Linked DNA regions of Homo sapiens: all the other regions are linked to region 4. The links are contacts of gene promoters, found by promoter capture Hi-C in blood cells and fetal thymus (Javierre and others, 2016). All regions are on one chromosome and are shown on one strand. Each heading gives the region's core, a stretch centred on a gene start or on the middle of the fragment in contact. The rest is flanking DNA. Distances are from core to core; before and after follow the strand shown.

The links. Contacts are between HindIII fragments. The CHiCAGO score rates a contact against its expected background, and 5 or more counts as called.
Region 1: a contact is called between a fragment that was not itself captured here and the fragment with the promoter of P3R3URF in region 4, in 2 of 17 cell types (M2 macrophages and M0 macrophages). The highest score is 5.6, in M2 macrophages.
Region 2: a fragment that was not itself captured here is called in contact with the fragment with the promoter of P3R3URF in region 4 in 1 of 17 cell types (M0 macrophages); the score reaches 5.3 in M0 macrophages.
Region 3: a fragment that was not itself captured here is called in contact with the fragment with the promoter of P3R3URF in region 4 in 2 of 17 cell types (M1 macrophages and M0 macrophages); the score reaches 5.5 in M1 macrophages.

What each region holds. Positions count from the first base shown.
Region 1 is chr1:45,929,091-45,932,998 of GRCh38, reverse strand. All of the region lies in intron 4 of MAST2 (microtubule associated serine/threonine kinase 2), which reads right to left. Among named protein-coding and RNA genes, the nearest start is that of MAST2, 130 kb to the right of the region's middle. The HindIII fragment of the contact is 1,725 bases long and covers 666-2,390 here.
Region 2 is chr1:45,994,596-45,998,533 of GRCh38, reverse strand. It overlaps MAST2 (microtubule associated serine/threonine kinase 2), which reads right to left. Exons shown (of 29, transcript NM_015112.3): 6 at 735-810. Among named protein-coding and RNA genes, the nearest start is that of PIK3R3, 140 kb to the left of the region's middle. The HindIII fragment of the contact is 726 bases long and covers 1,425-2,150 here.
Region 3 is chr1:45,953,770-45,957,207 of GRCh38, reverse strand. All of the region lies in intron 4 of MAST2 (microtubule associated serine/threonine kinase 2), which reads right to left. Among named protein-coding and RNA genes, the nearest start is that of MAST2, 150 kb to the right of the region's middle. The HindIII fragment of the contact is 5,257 bases long and covers 1-3,438 here.
Region 4 is chr1:46,174,955-46,178,609 of GRCh38, reverse strand. P3R3URF (PIK3R3 upstream open reading frame) reads left to right here and starts at 2,122. Exons shown (of 2, transcript NM_001328655.2): 1 at 2,122-2,382; 2 at 2,981-3,124. The coding sequence starts at 2,139. The coding sequence ends at 3,024. P3R3URF-PIK3R3 (P3R3URF-PIK3R3 readthrough) reads left to right here and starts at 2,122. Exons shown (of 10, transcript NM_001303427.2): 1 at 2,122-2,382. The coding sequence starts at 2,139. It overlaps TSPAN1 (tetraspanin 1), which reads right to left and starts at 3,523. Exons shown (of 9, transcript NM_005727.4): 1 at 3,201-3,523. The HindIII fragment of the contact is 5,416 bases long and covers 1-3,051 here.

The DNA of each region.
Region 1 (3,908 bases), core at 279-2,778, 250 kb after region 4:
GGATTATACCATGCCTGATTCATATTTTGGCTTTTAAAAAGCATTCTCCACTAAAAAGAACTATGCTGCCTAGAGAAAAAGCTCAAGGGCTAGTGAGGGTACAAAATAAGCCAGCCAGGAATATCTTCTCAGGGCAGAAAGTTACGTAGTTCTCAAAGAATGACAGAGACATCAAAAAGACACAAAAGTCAGCCTGAAGAAACTTCCCTTGACCAGATATGATACAATTTTGAGCATCAAAACTAAAATGGTATTAACAGATTATATAACCCATCAAATAAGACAAATCCACTAAATTTTTTTTGGAGTGGGGAGGGGGCAGTTGAAAGACAGAGTCTCACTCTGTCTCCCAGGCCAGAGTGCAGTGGTGCGATCTTGGCTCACTACAACCTCCGCCTCCTGGGTTCAAGCGATTCTCGTGCCTCAGCCTCCCATGTAGCTGGGATTACAGGCGTGAGCCACCACGCCTGGCTAGTTTTGCATTTTTAGTACAGACAGGGTTTCACCACGTTGGCCAGGCTGGTCTTGAACTCCTGACCTCAAGTGATCCACCCACCTCAAAGTGCTGGGATTACAGGTGTGAGCCACAGCGCCCAGTCAAAAGTCCACTGAATTTATACAGTATAATAAAGTAAGTGAAAAATGAATAGGGAGAGGTGAAAGCTTTTGCTATGGTGAAATGCCAACTGATGGGTATAGAAAGAATTATGAAATTGTAAAAATACCATTTGGTGACCAGCATAGTATAATAATGCAACCAGGAACATCAATGGATCCTAAAAACAGAGGGTTAAAATTTGATGAGGAATGGGGTACTTACATAATTTTAAGAACATTCCCATAAAATACTTATTAATTACAAAGGGAAAAAAAGAGTAACTTCACAGCAGCAAAACTTTACAGCAGCAAAACACCACGTTAATAAAGTGATCAAGGTTAACTTCATAGTAATGGGACAAAACGAAAGCCTGTATCACCTAACAGGACACAATGAGAAGAACACAACATTGCTGGGTGCAGTAGCTCACGCCTGTAATCCCAGCCCTTTGGGAGGCCGAGGCAGGAGGATTACCTGAACCCAGGAGTTCAAGACCAGCCTAGGCAACACAGCAAGACCCTGTCTCTAAAAAAATTTTTTAAAACTTAGCCAGGCATGGTAGTGTATGCCTGTATTTCCAGCTACTCTCCTCAAGAGGCTGGGGTGGGACTGGGCATGGTGGCTCACACCTGTAATCCCAGCACTTTGGGAGGCTGAGGTGGGCGGATCACCTGAGGTCAGGAGTTCGAGACTAGTTTCACCAATATGGTGAAGTCCTGTCTCTACTAAAAAAAAACACAAAAATTAGCCAGGTGTGGTGGCGGGCGCCTGTAGTCCCAGCTACTCAGGATGCTGAGACAGGAGAATCGCTTGAACCCGGGAGGTGGAGGTTGCAGTGAGCCCAGATCATGCCACTGCACTCCAGCCTGGGTGACAGAGCGAGACACTCTCAAAAAAACAAAAACAACAAAAGAGGCTGGGGTGGGAAGATCACTTGAGCCCAGGAGGTAGTGACTGTGCCACTGCATTCCAGCCTGGGCAACAGAGCAAGACTCTATCTCAAAAAAAAAAAAAAAAAAAAAACAGAACACAATACCACCTTTTTGTGATATTTCTGCCAAAGGTTCATAACCTGATTCTAATCCTGAGGAAATAACAGACAAATTCAAATTAAAGGACATCCTATCAAATAAACTGGTCTGTAATCTTCAAAAGTATTGAGGTTATAAAAGTTGAGGAAATAACTACAAAACTGCATCAGATTAAAGGAGATAGAAGACGAATAACAGTAAAATTCTAACACATGATCCTGGATCGGAGCCTTCTGTTACAAAGGATATTACTGGGACATTTGGTGAAATATGAATTAAACTTGTAGATTAGATGGTAATATTTATTAATGTTAATTTTCTGATTTTAATGGCTGTACTGTTATGAAAATGTCTCTGTAGGAAGTATACACTAAAGTGTTCAGGGCTGATGAGATAACATATCAGGAGCTAATTCAGTATGGGTTAGGACAAGGGCTGTCAAACTTTTTCTGTAAAGGCCAGATAATAAGTATTTTAGGCTTTGCAGGTCACATGTGGTCTCTGTCACATATTCCTTGTTTTTTGTAAATATCCCTTAAAAAATGTAAACTTCATTATTAGCTTGTGGCTTGTATAAACACAGCCCACAGGTCACATTTGGTTCATGGGGTTTATTTTGCTGACCCCTGGTTTGGGGGGTGAAAAGCTCTTTGAACTATTCTTGGAATTTTGACATTAAAAAAATATTTCTGCTAACATCCAGAGAAATCACTTGAAAAGTTCTGGGAATGACTGAATAGGGGTGAATAAGGCTGAAAGCTTATGAAATAAAAAGCATCCCTTTTACTCTACCCCGTGCTGCGAAGTGTTCTATTGCCTATGTGGGCATCTTCTCCTGCTCAGAGGGCCTAGTATGCAGTTGAATGTATGAATGAATGAATGAATGAATGCATCTATCTCAATTTCCCAGGACAGGAAACTGATTCCCTTCACATAAGATAAACAAAACAAAACAAAACAAAACAAAACAAAACAAAAAAAACAAAAAACAGGCCAGGCGCGGTGGCTCACATCTGTAATCCCAGCACTTTGGGAGGCCAAGGCGGGTAGATCATGAGGTCAGGAGTTCAAGATCAGCCTGGCCAAGATGGTGAAACCCCGTCTCTACTAAAAATACAAAAAAAATTAGCCAGGCGTGGTGGTGGGTGCCTGTAATCTCAGCTACTGGGGAGACTGAGGCAGAGAATTGCTTAAACCTGGAGGCGGAGGATGCAGTGAGCTGAGATCGCGCACTCCAGCCTGGGCGACAGAGAAATTCCATCCCCCCTCAAAACAAACTTCATCCTTTAGGAATATTTTAATATGACTTTTTACTTGGCTACATTGAGATACCATTTTTTAGCTCTCAGATTAGCAAAAATTCAAAAGCTTGACAATCATATTGTTGGCAAGGCTGTGTGCAAATAGACATTATCTTAAACTGCTGATGGAAATGTAAAATAGTATAACCATAGACTGTGAAGGGAAACTGGACAATATCTAATAAAACTACATATACATTTAATTTTTGACTCAGCTATCCCAGTTCTAGTAATTTATCCTGAAGATAGCCCTCCAAAAAAAAAAATCCATCTATTTACACACACATATGTATATATTAACAAACAAAGCCATGAAAATTAATTCTTCTGTGTCAAGGATCTATTATTGTAAATTAATCGTTTCTCTGACTACTCCAGTATGCTAGTTTCTTAACAGCAGGACTCTCTAGCCCTAAGCCCATCCTATCTACCAAAATGAGGCCATCAGGATCAGCAATGGCTCCTCCTCTTGTGGCATCTAGGGACATGAAAGAAAAGCTGCTGCCTTCTAGATGCATTCTCACCTCTCAGAGTCCCAGAGTCTACATAACAAGCATGACTACTACAGATAATTCCTCTTTCTACGTGGGCCAGAAGAGGAAGCCAAGGTTTTCCTCAGCTGAGCAATCAGTTAGCTATGTAAATGGCAAACTCCAAGGGGCTTCACCACCAACAACTCCCCCCCTGCTGCTCTGGGCAAACAATCTTCACAACGAAGCAGTAATAAGCAGGTATGAAACACTGACCAAGGAACTGAGGACACTCAGGCTTTAGGCTGAAGACTCAGGAAAGAGTCTAAGCTGAGTCAATGCGAATAAGGGTAATTATCTGTACTTCAGGGTAAAAAAAAACAGATAATGAGGAGAAAATTCTTTTGTGTAAGTACTGTAGTTAATAAAGGGAAGGAGAATCATCTTTTGCAAACTCCTAAGAAAATAATGAATCTAGGTGATAATTATCAATGGCCACTACTAACAA
Region 2 (3,938 bases), core at 538-3,037, 180 kb after region 4:
AGAAATCATGTGTGTATAGAGCCTAGGTATGTGATTTGGATGGATTAATCTCATTCAGCTTTCTCTAAAGGCCTGATGATATTCCAGCCACAGGCAGAGCTGTCAGCGTTGCTGCCATGGGCCAGAGACAGGTTTGTTATCACTCTCAAGAGGGAAGAAACATGGGAGGAGGACTGTAAGCATGGCTCTGTATGCACCAAATCTTTCTAAATTCATAGAAGGAAAAGTGAAGTCCCTGTAGTGTCTTTATCCCCCAAACGAACTCCAGCTCAAAGTCAAGGAGAGAGGCACAAAGAGCCCTTTCAGCTGCTTTAAACTAGCTGAGTTAGAGAGGACAAAGAGTATAACTTTGGGTCCTCCTGGAGGAGAGCTTATTTTCTCATTCATCACTGTAGGACAGTTCTAAATTGAGAGTATAATGCTTTGGAACATACCCGTAGGACATCAGGGACTTAAAAAAAAAAGTGAATTATACAAATAAATCTACTTTTACTTAATATCTACTCTCCTGTTTAAACATTCAAACACAAATACATGGGGCACCTATAAAGCAAAACCAGAACACGATCATTACAACCTAGGAGAGGAAAGCAAAGACAGAGTTTTGATGGATGGGAGCTTCAGGTAATACACTTGAAAGAGTAGTGACACTTAAAGGAGGAATCTGACATTCAATTAACCCTCATGCAAGTGCCACATGTGCTGGTCCCAGAGGAGGTTTCCTATCAACTTACCTACGGGCAGGAACAAAAGAAAAGTGAGCAGGTGCATTTGGAGAGAAATTCCGGGGGCTGTCCAAAGGACTGTTACCTGTGGATGGGAAAAGAAACAAAACTCTGTGAGGTTTGCTTGTGAGGAGGGTGGACATGACTTTCGGGCAAGAAATATTCCCCTAGCACTGGCAATTATATGGTTATTTTCTCAGGGCCACTATCAGTTTAATGAGTCTCTTTCTGTAAAAGTTTCATAGCCCAGAGGTTTTCTCCCTTGTTCCCAAGTTTGCTGTAACAACCCATGTCTCTCAGATAACCATTCTAGATCTAGCAGCAACTTGACTATTTCCTGCCCTCCTAGGAACACACCTGAGACTTCAATCTGTCTTTGTCAAGTGAACCAACATTCAGAAGGCTTAAAGAGCTCATTCAGTCAGAGGGTATAGCCAAATGTTCACACTTTCTCAAAGGGCAACAGGACCCCTAATCCAAAAGTTTCTTGCATATATATCTCTGCGCACTGTATCCAAGGGCTAAACCAGGAACATGTGTGTTTTAAGGGGAAAGAGAAGTTCTCAGGTAGGGACTCAGGATAGTAGTAAACCTTAAGATAGTTCGTAATCAAGGCCCCCAAGTCTACAAAGCATACCGCCATTTCTTAATTAGTATTCACGTGTTCCCTGTAACTTGCTAACTTAAAGCTCAGAAGCTTTGAACAAAACTGTAAGTTTACCTTTGCATTAATCCCAATGGTTCTTAAACCTAAGCCTGCCATACTTCTCTGGGCTATCTTCCAGCTGGGGACTGGTACGTAGGAGCCCCTTGTTGGCAGTTGTTAATATGACTCTACTCAAAAGGCCATGTTGAAGTAAGCACCATACTCCATGCTGTGCTGGCTCCCCTCTAACCCCTGTCCACCTCCTCACTTCTGTGCTTACCTCCCAGGGGCCTGGTACTTCAACATGCGCTGGCTTTCTCTTGGATAGTATGTTTCCTGCACAGTGTATGGATGTTCCAAGTTGCCAAAAACCTACCCCTTTGTTTCCCACTATCTCTATCCAATAGGGCTTATATAGCACTTAACGTCTTTTTATACTGATCTAGTAGAAACCAGCCTCTCAATCAGTGCTCCTACTACCCTATGCAGCAGCACCTCTGTATCAATTATATAATGGCATTGTTTTTGGTTGAAATAATAAGAGGCATTTTCAGTTCTTCTCACCCCCAGGTGCATAAAATATACAACTTCATCCAGTGGATCTGCTCTCAACATTGCATGAACTCTGGGTTTTCCATGCTCTGTGTCAGGGATATCTGTTATGACCTCTCCCCATCTTCTGGCTAGTGGGCACCAGGATATAAGGGAAGTGATCCTGAGTAGCTGTTTCCTTAGCCAGGACTTAATAAGGATCAGGCCTCCTCAGAAGTATCAAAGCTTATTTTTTTAAAAAAAATTCTGTTCTTTTTTGATAGTGTCATCTCATGTCAAAGATTAACAAATACCCACAGTTTGATTCTTGACATGCAAAGTCAGATGCCCTTTGTTGGTTCCCAAAACTACCCAGCTAAAGCCTCAAGGAGATGCCTGGACATGAGCATCCTACAATGACCAGCCTTCCAAGGATCGGTCTGGTTACAGAGGTACAAAGAATCTTCCAGGTGCGCATAGTACAGCTAGGGTTACATAACACACACGTATGTCAGAAATAGCTAACACCGAGAGGGGAAAAAAAAGCAGCAAAAAAACTAAATAAACAGCACCACTGAGCTGTAGGACAACTTCAAGCAGGGGGAGGGGAGAGCAGGGGATACAGAAAAAAGATAGGAAGAAATAATGGCGGACCATTTTGCAAATTTGATAAAAACCATATACCCACATGTTGTGTGATGGGTCCTTTACCAGATTACTTAAAGGTACATATGTTCACTGCCTGAAACCTGAAGGCTAGGCCCATGGCAATGGTACCCAGCTGAGGAGCAGGTATCCCTGAGAACCAACCAAACATCCCAGAGAGTATCTGAGAATCTCTCAAGAAAAACAGTATCATTGTTCAAACACAGTAGGCAAAGATCCAGAAAATTAGCTTAAAAGCAGTTTAGAGGGAGCCGGGTACAGTGGCTCACGCCTGTCATGCCAGTTTGGGAGGCTGAGGAGGGCGATCACTTGAGTCCAGGAGTCTGAGACCAGCCTAAGCAACATGGCAAAACACCCCATGTCTAAAAACAAACAAACAAAAAATGCGGTTTAGAGACAGGAGGCAGCGTGGATCTCTAGAGCTGTCCTGCTGCCGTCCAGGAGTGCCTTGTATGTAAGTTGAATAAACTCGTCTACTCATCAAGTTAAATTTGTCTGAGTCATTCTTTGGTCTCATGGCTCCTTCCCAGTTTAGATGGGACGTTGCAGTCCCAAGTTTTTCTTGTAACATCACAAATCTAAGAATCTCTAAGAATCCCAAACATGAGAAAGAAGAAGAGAAGTACATCAAAGAATACCCAGTCAAATCGCTCAAAACTCAAGATACAGAGAAAAATCTTTAGAGTGGCTAGAGCTTGGTGGAGCTCAGTAAAGTGAGAAGAAGATATGTTATACAGAGGAACAAAGACAAGGATTATAGCAGATTTCTCGTTGGAAACAATGCAAGAAGACAGCAGAGCAATATATTTAAATTATGGAAGATATGGGCCAGGCGTGGTGGCTCACGCCCGTAATCCCAGCACTTTGGGAGGCTGAGGTGGGCGGATCACGAGGCCAGGAGATCGAGACCATCCTGGTTAACACAATGAAACCCTGTCTCTACTAAAAAATACAAAAAAATTAGCCGGGCGTGGTGGCGGGCGCCTGTAGTCCCAGATATTCGGAAGGCTGAGGCAGGAGAATGGCGTGAACCCAGGAGGTGGAGCTTGCAGTGAGCCGAGACAGTGCCACTGTACTCCAGCCTGGGTGACAAAGCGAGACTCTGTCTCAAAAAAAAAAAAAAAATTATGGAAGATATGGCTATTCTCCTGCCAACCTAGAATTCTAGACCCAGCTGTTGTGTAGTAAAGAATTTGACTGGCCTTAGTACCCAGTTCCTGGGAAGGAGCCTGTAAATCCTTGGAATTTCCCAAGTGATAGGAGTGCTTTTGTTATTTATGACAGGGCCTGATACTTTACGCTAATGATATAACTCAGGATGGGGACTGGCCACACCTGAAAGACCAACCATGTAATTGGAGGGTTGGGGC
Region 3 (3,438 bases), core at 703-3,202, 220 kb after region 4:
ATAATTATGCTGAAAGCAAGATGCCAGACAAAAAAGAGTATGTTGTATGCTTTCATGGATGAGTTGAACAATTTGCCTCTCAGGTGTATTCAATCAAAAAATTTGTCCCTGGATATTTATACTAAAATATACTAAAAACAAAAGTCAAACATAATGTTACTTAACAGGAGACTGTTCTGACACATGCGCTAAAAGGGAATTGAAAACATTATTTCCAAGTCAATCATCCCACATAAATTCGACCAAATACGAGTCCAACACATTGTGACGAATTCCTCTCATGGTCTTGCACTTTGCTTTGCATTTATTTCAATAGCACTAGATGTTTTGGGTATGTATGCCAAGAGATGATATGAACTGTGCTCAACTAGGCACTGCAAAATAGGTGGCAAGGTTTGGGCAGAACAGTCACCAAAAATTTCCAAATAACCAATAGCTGGCTGATGGGTGTATCCACCATACCAAAAGCCCATTATTTCTCTCTCCAGAGCATGGCTATAGTGACACTTGATTTCGTGGCTAAAACAGGACTCACTGATTTGCAAGTAATGACCTAAACCACTAAGCTGTATCGGATGTAGTTCAAAGTAATGCTTGCATACTTTGTGACAGAAATTGTGGACACTGACCATAGTATGGACTGAAATTCCAGTAACAGCAGTAGTTGCTCTCTCTGTGACTTCCATAGACCATAACAAGGGAAGATGAAGCCACTTATTCAGGGAAATGCTGGATTTTGTGAAAAAATAATCCTTTCAAAGACAGACTCATGCTGATTGGCAATTGCAGTGAACAAATTTCCATGAATAGCTGTCTTTATTATACTGGCATTGTACCACCCACAGTAAGGGTTGGTGATATGAGGAACATTTAGGAGCCATAGATAACAAATTACACTCCTTCAAGAAGTCAATGATTGGCAGGTTTGAAGTGTTGACAATAGGTTGCAATGTATCTTGAAATAAACATCTATCCATTGGGAGAGGTGAAATAAAAATTTTCTCAAAAGTAGAACCACTAAAAAAATAAAATTTGAATTTGACCCACCACAATTAAGAAATTTCACTGGTGGGACTCACAAGGACAAATTGTTTAGTTGATCCAATTCCATTTATATAAAATTATAGAAAATGCTAACTAATCTATAGTGACAGACTGCAGATTAGTAGTTGCCCAATGAGAAGCAAGGAATGGATTATAGATAGTCATGAGGAAACTTCTGAGAGTTATAGATCTGTTCATTATCTTCATGTTCATTATCACAGTCATACAATCTATTATATTCCAATCATACCTCAATAAAACTATACAAAAATTTTAAAATGTAAGCAACATCATGTCCCTCTTCCATTTAAAATTCTCCTTGTCTCACTGAGAGAAAAAGCCAGTTCTGATGATGGCCTACAAGGCATTATATGGTCTGGATTCTCCATGACCTCTCTCCCTCCTGCTCACTCTCCAGCCACACCGGCCTCCTCGCCTTTCTTAGAAAATGCCAAGCGAGCCACCCATCTCAGGGCCTTTACAATTGGGATTTCCTTTGCCTATGTTTCTCCCAGGTTGCCTCAAGGCTTGCTCCCCTCTTCCTTCAGGTCTTTGCTCAAGTACAATCTTCTGGGTGAATTTTCCCCGATCATTCTATTTAAAATTGCAAACCCTCCCAAACTCTCTATCCCCCTTTCTTGATATATTTTTCTCCTAGCACTTATCATCATCTAACACACTACAGTCAGCATGTGGGTTCCACATCCATGGATTCAACCAACTATGGGTGGAAAATATTTTTTAAAACTTTTAAAATAATATAAATTTTAAAAATATAGTATAACAGCTATTTGCAGGGATTTGCTTTGTATTAGATATTATAAATAATCTAGAGATGATTTAAAGTATACAGGAAGATGTGTATAGGTTATATGCGAATATTATGTATGCTCTTTTATATAAGAGACTTGGGCATCTGCAGATTTTGGTATCCGTGTGGGTCCTGGAACTAATCCCCAATATATATATGATGGTATATATTTTGCACATTCATTTTGTTGTCTCTCTTCTCATCAGAAATTAAACTGTATGAGGGCAGGGGCTTTTGTATGCTTTGTGTACTGCTGCACTCCTCAATACCTAGAACGCTGCCTGGCACACAGTAGGCTCTCAATAAGTATTTGTTAAATGAATGGATGAGTATGATTTGTTACAAGGATTAAAATAAAGAAGATACATGTATACCTGGCCTATGAAAGGTAAATCAAACTGTTATATCTAAATCCTTGTGTCTGAAAGTGAAAATGTCTTGAAACTTCAGGGACGGATAATTAATTCCAGCTTCATTTGCCTTAACCTTATTTAAAATTTAAAATAAAAGCCAAAACACTAAAGATCGTATTTCCAGGCCACATGCCTTTTTATAAAGGTACACATAATCTCACTTGGCAAATCTTTAACAGCTGCCAGGGGAAAAAAAGGTCAGACACTCTGCTACAGATACCATGACTCAGCTGAGATCCACAACAAGGAACTGGCTAATTTTTCCATTTCAACAGGCTCTGGCCATTTCCCCAGGATCCTAAGAAGATAAAGGGCAAGTCTTAATTCTTTCATTCCAGTAAGATGAAGTACTGGATATCTGCAGAGTTGGGTACACTAACTCTCAGCGGACGGGTGGTAGCCTGGAAGCCCCCGGAGCTACCTCATGCAAAGACTGGTGTTAAATCATCCCAGTCACTTGGCTACTTGGAGTGAGACTTGGCATTTCAATTTCTTACATACCTCGCCATGGTCATCTCAGTCAACAGCAAGAACAAGGGCTAAGGCATATCGTGCATTCTCTGTGACAATGTTGAATTGTAACCACATTTGGAGAGTAGTAGATCGTTTCTAGCCTTCAAAAACCCCTCCCTCCAGCAACTAGCAGGCACTCGGAAAATCTGACCCCTGCAAGAGCTGCTGTAAATTTACTTAGGAAGCCTGCTTCCCACTGTGAAGCAACAAAGGGTATGGAATAAGATGTCTGGTTGCAGATCCCTTAGGTCTCTCCAGTCTCCAAATCTCAGAGGTCTAGCTGCTCCTAGGAACTTGAGCACTCCGTGACTGGATAGTACTTGGCAGGCACCTTTTAGAATTTAGAATGAGGAAAAGATCACTTCTGTTTCAGTAAGTGTAAACAATATAAAGAAGAATGTGGAGCTGGTTACAGTCAAGCACTTCCAGATGCTATAATATTTCAGAGTAACAACCAAGATGTCCTGGTTAAGATGGGGAAGTGAGAGTGGGAAAAAAATACATATTCCCTCCCCAATAAAGGGAGATATTATTACGTATCCATTATATTATTATTGATATATTATTTATTGCTTACCTGGATTTCAATACCCTCCTAACTAGTCTCTCTGGTTTACTCTTGTCTTCTACCCTAATCTGTTCTTAATATGAGCAAGC
Region 4 (3,655 bases), core at 873-3,372:
TATAGTTACAGTTGCTAGAAGTTGGTGGAAGCAAGGTCATATTTTAAGACTGAGGATGGCAAGAGTAGAGGCTGGAGGAGGGGATGGGGGAAAGATGAGGTTTGTGAGGGTGGTACTAAGGGTGCCACAGAGTCCTCCACAAACAGAAAGGAGGATGAAGTTGGGAAGGGGGCATTTGAGGAGCAGAGTAAGGGGGAAAGGAAGAAGGGACTGAGGAGTGGAAGGAGAAGGAGAAGGTCTATTTTTTTTTTTTTTGACAGAATCTCACTCTGTTGCCCAGGCTGGAATGCAGTGGCGCAATCTTGGCTCACTGCAACCTCCGCCTCCCAGTTTCAAGCGATTCTCCTGCCTCAGCCTCCTGAGTAGCTGGTATTATAGGTGCACACCACCACACCCAGCTAATTTTTGTATTTTTAGTAGAGACAGGGTTTCACCATGTTGACCAGGCTGCTCTCGAGCTCCTGACCTCAAGTCATCCACCCACCTCGGGCTCCCAAAGTGCTGGGATTACAGGCGTGAGCCACCGCACCTGGAACCTTTCTGTTTCATTCTCAGGAAGAATTGGGACCAGATTACATTCATCTATGGCCCTGGTGCTTGGCACATAAGAAGTTGTCAGTGAACATTTCCTGAGTGAATGAGTGCAGAATAATGAGAGTTAAGTGCTCTGGGTTTTGGATCTTGATCATCATGGATTTGCTTCCTGCCTGCCTCTAATTGTGTGACTTCACCTCACTGAGCCCCAGTTTCCTTATACAGTGGATCCTCCTTATTCACAGATTCCATACCTGTGAATTTGCCTGCTTACTGAAATTTATTTGTAATTCCCAAACCAGTACTTGTGGTACTTTTGCAGTCATTCATGGACATGAGCAGAAAGGCAAAAAATTTCAGCCGTCCAACACACGTATTTCCAGCTGAGGTCTGTTGAGCAAGAGGACTCTCTGTCTTCTTATTTCAGTTTTCATAGAGTAAACAAATGTGCTTTTTGGTGGTCTATTTAGTGACGCATATTCTCACATTTTTTGGTGTTTTTTGCTGGTGATTTTACTGTCTAAAATGGTCCCCAGTTGTAGTGCTGAAGTGCTCTCTAGTCTTTCTAAGTGCAAGAAGGCTGTGATGTGCCTTATAGGGGAAATATGTGCTTTAGATAAGTTTCATTCAGGCACAAGTTATAATGCTGTTGGCTGTGAGTTCAATGTCAATGACTCAAATATAGATAGATAGTTAGATAGATAGATAGATAGATAGATAGATATATTTTTTTTTTTTTTGAGACAGAGTTTCACTCTTGTTGCCCAGGCTGGAGTGCAATGGTGCAATCTGGGCTCACTGCAATCTCCACCTCCTGGGTTCAAGCTATTCTCCTGTCTCAGCCTCCTGAGTAGCTGGGACTACAGGCACCCACCACCACACCCAGCTAATTTTTGTATTTTTAGTAGAGATGGGGTTTTGCCATGTTAACCAGGCTAGTCTTGAACTCCTGACCTCAGGTGATCTGCCCACCTCGGCCTCCCAAAGTGCTGGGATTACAGGCTTGAGCCACCATGCCTGGCCAACAATATATATTAAATAAGGTGTCTCCACACATAAAATCAGGTTATATGTATAGATCAGTTGACAAAAATATTGTGACCAGAGGGTTTCAGGAACCTAACCTTGCATTTACCCTTTGTTCAGTATTTAGTGTTTGTGGCGACTTTATAGAACATTACTGGGAATAATGAGAATTGACTGTATATAAATAGGTATAATGATGGCATATCCTTGTAAAGTAGCTGAGATTAAATGAGATAACGTTGGTAAAGTGCTCAGCACAGTGTCTGGCACGTAGTAAGTGCTCAAAAAACATTGTTAATATTGTTACTATATGGATAAGTGAGAAAGTGAGGAAGTGAGTTCCGCCTCTAGGGCCTCTTTTCCCAAGGGGCCAAACTGAGGCTGTCTGGCTCTTGGGCTGGCTTTTAGGCCAGACCCAATAAAGAAGATTGTGAAGGAGCCTGACCCATGAGGAGGGGCCAGGGCCCACGACTTGTAATAAAGGGCCCTGCCCTTATGCAGACTTTGTATGTCATAGAGGCCTCAGCTACCCTGGCCAACAGCACCCCCCAGGCACACTGCAGAAGCTCCCTGTGCCCATGGGGCCATCTCGGCTTGTCCGTGGCCCTCGGCCCCAGGGCATGCGTTCCCCCTACCGCAGGCCAGGTATGGGCTGGCCCAGGCCCCGATTTCCCAGGATGTTCAAGTGTAGCCGCAGAAGATATCAACAGGGTCTCCGAGGTCGAACTGCCAGCAGTGCAGCCATCAATCCTGCCACCAGGGCCATGGGTATCAACAACACCCACACTGACACCACCATAGTGTGGATCTTCCCACCTCAAGGTTAGCCAGGGGGCCTGTGAGCCAGGGTGGGGTTTTAAAAAACAGAGCCACTAGGCTGGGTGCGGTGGCTCATGCCTGTAATCCCGGCACTTTGGGAGGCCAAGGCGGGCAGATCACAAGGTCAGGAGATCGAGACCATCCTGGCTAACACGGTGAAATCCCATCTCTACTAAAAATACAAAAAAAAATTAGCCGGGCGTGGTGGCACACGCCTTTAGTCCCAGCTACTTGGGAGGCTGAGGCAGGAGAATTGCTTGAACCCGGGAGGCAGAGGTTGCAGTGAGCCAAGATCGCGCCACTGCACTCCAGCCTGGGTGACAGAGCTAGACTCTGTCTCAAGAAAAAAAAAAAAAAACCAGAGCCAGTGAAGATTTCCCTACCTGGTTCTGTTTAGGCACGCCAAAGGATGATCTCTGTGAAATAGCACCCCTACATATATGGGGGACTCCTGATGGCAGGCACCCCAAAGTGCTGACAGCCTTAATGGAGGATGGATTGGCTGGAAGCAGAGGGTTTGGGGAGGGGCTGAATCCAAGAGGCAGGGAACTTCCAGAACTGCTTCCTTCCTCAAACTCTTCCCTCTCCTTCCTCTCCTCAGTTCTCAGACATCTCAGGCAACCTGGGATTTTTCTGATCCTCTAGAAGTGCCCAGAAGCTAGCCCAGAAGCTTGGTTTGCCCTGGACCTGCATCTCCTAGGGGCCGTGTGGGTGGTGAACAACAAATACAGTCATTCTGCTCAAACTGCCTTATTCCACACAGAGGTGTTAACCAGCTGACTATGCAGGGCGTGAGGGGAGGGTTATGGCTGAATACTTACAGGGAAAGGCTTCAGTGACCGCAGCAGGGATCATAGTTTAAGACAGCAGGAGGACAGGACAAGGTCAGCAACATAGACCATCTTTGGTCTCAGCTCTTGATCTGCCCCATGAAGTAGGGGCTCTCTTGCCTTACACTCCTAACTGCACAGGGAGAAGGGTCTCTGTAAACATCTTGGAAGGTATTGGGAGGCACAGATCAGAGAGGGATAGGATGAAAGACTGAACCCTGAGAGTACACAAGTATGAGGTGGATGTGAGGTGGATGTGCCTCTGTGTGCCTGTGATGGTCAGCGTGTAGGTGTAGCTGCTGGTGTGTGTGTCTGAGGCCGGGAGAATAGGAGTATCAGTAGATGTGGCTGAATGTGCCTTTGTGATTTAATGTGCCTCTGTGACTGACTGTGAGTGTCAAGGAGCGTTTGTGAGGGTATGGGTGTGCCGGAGAGGACATCAGCCC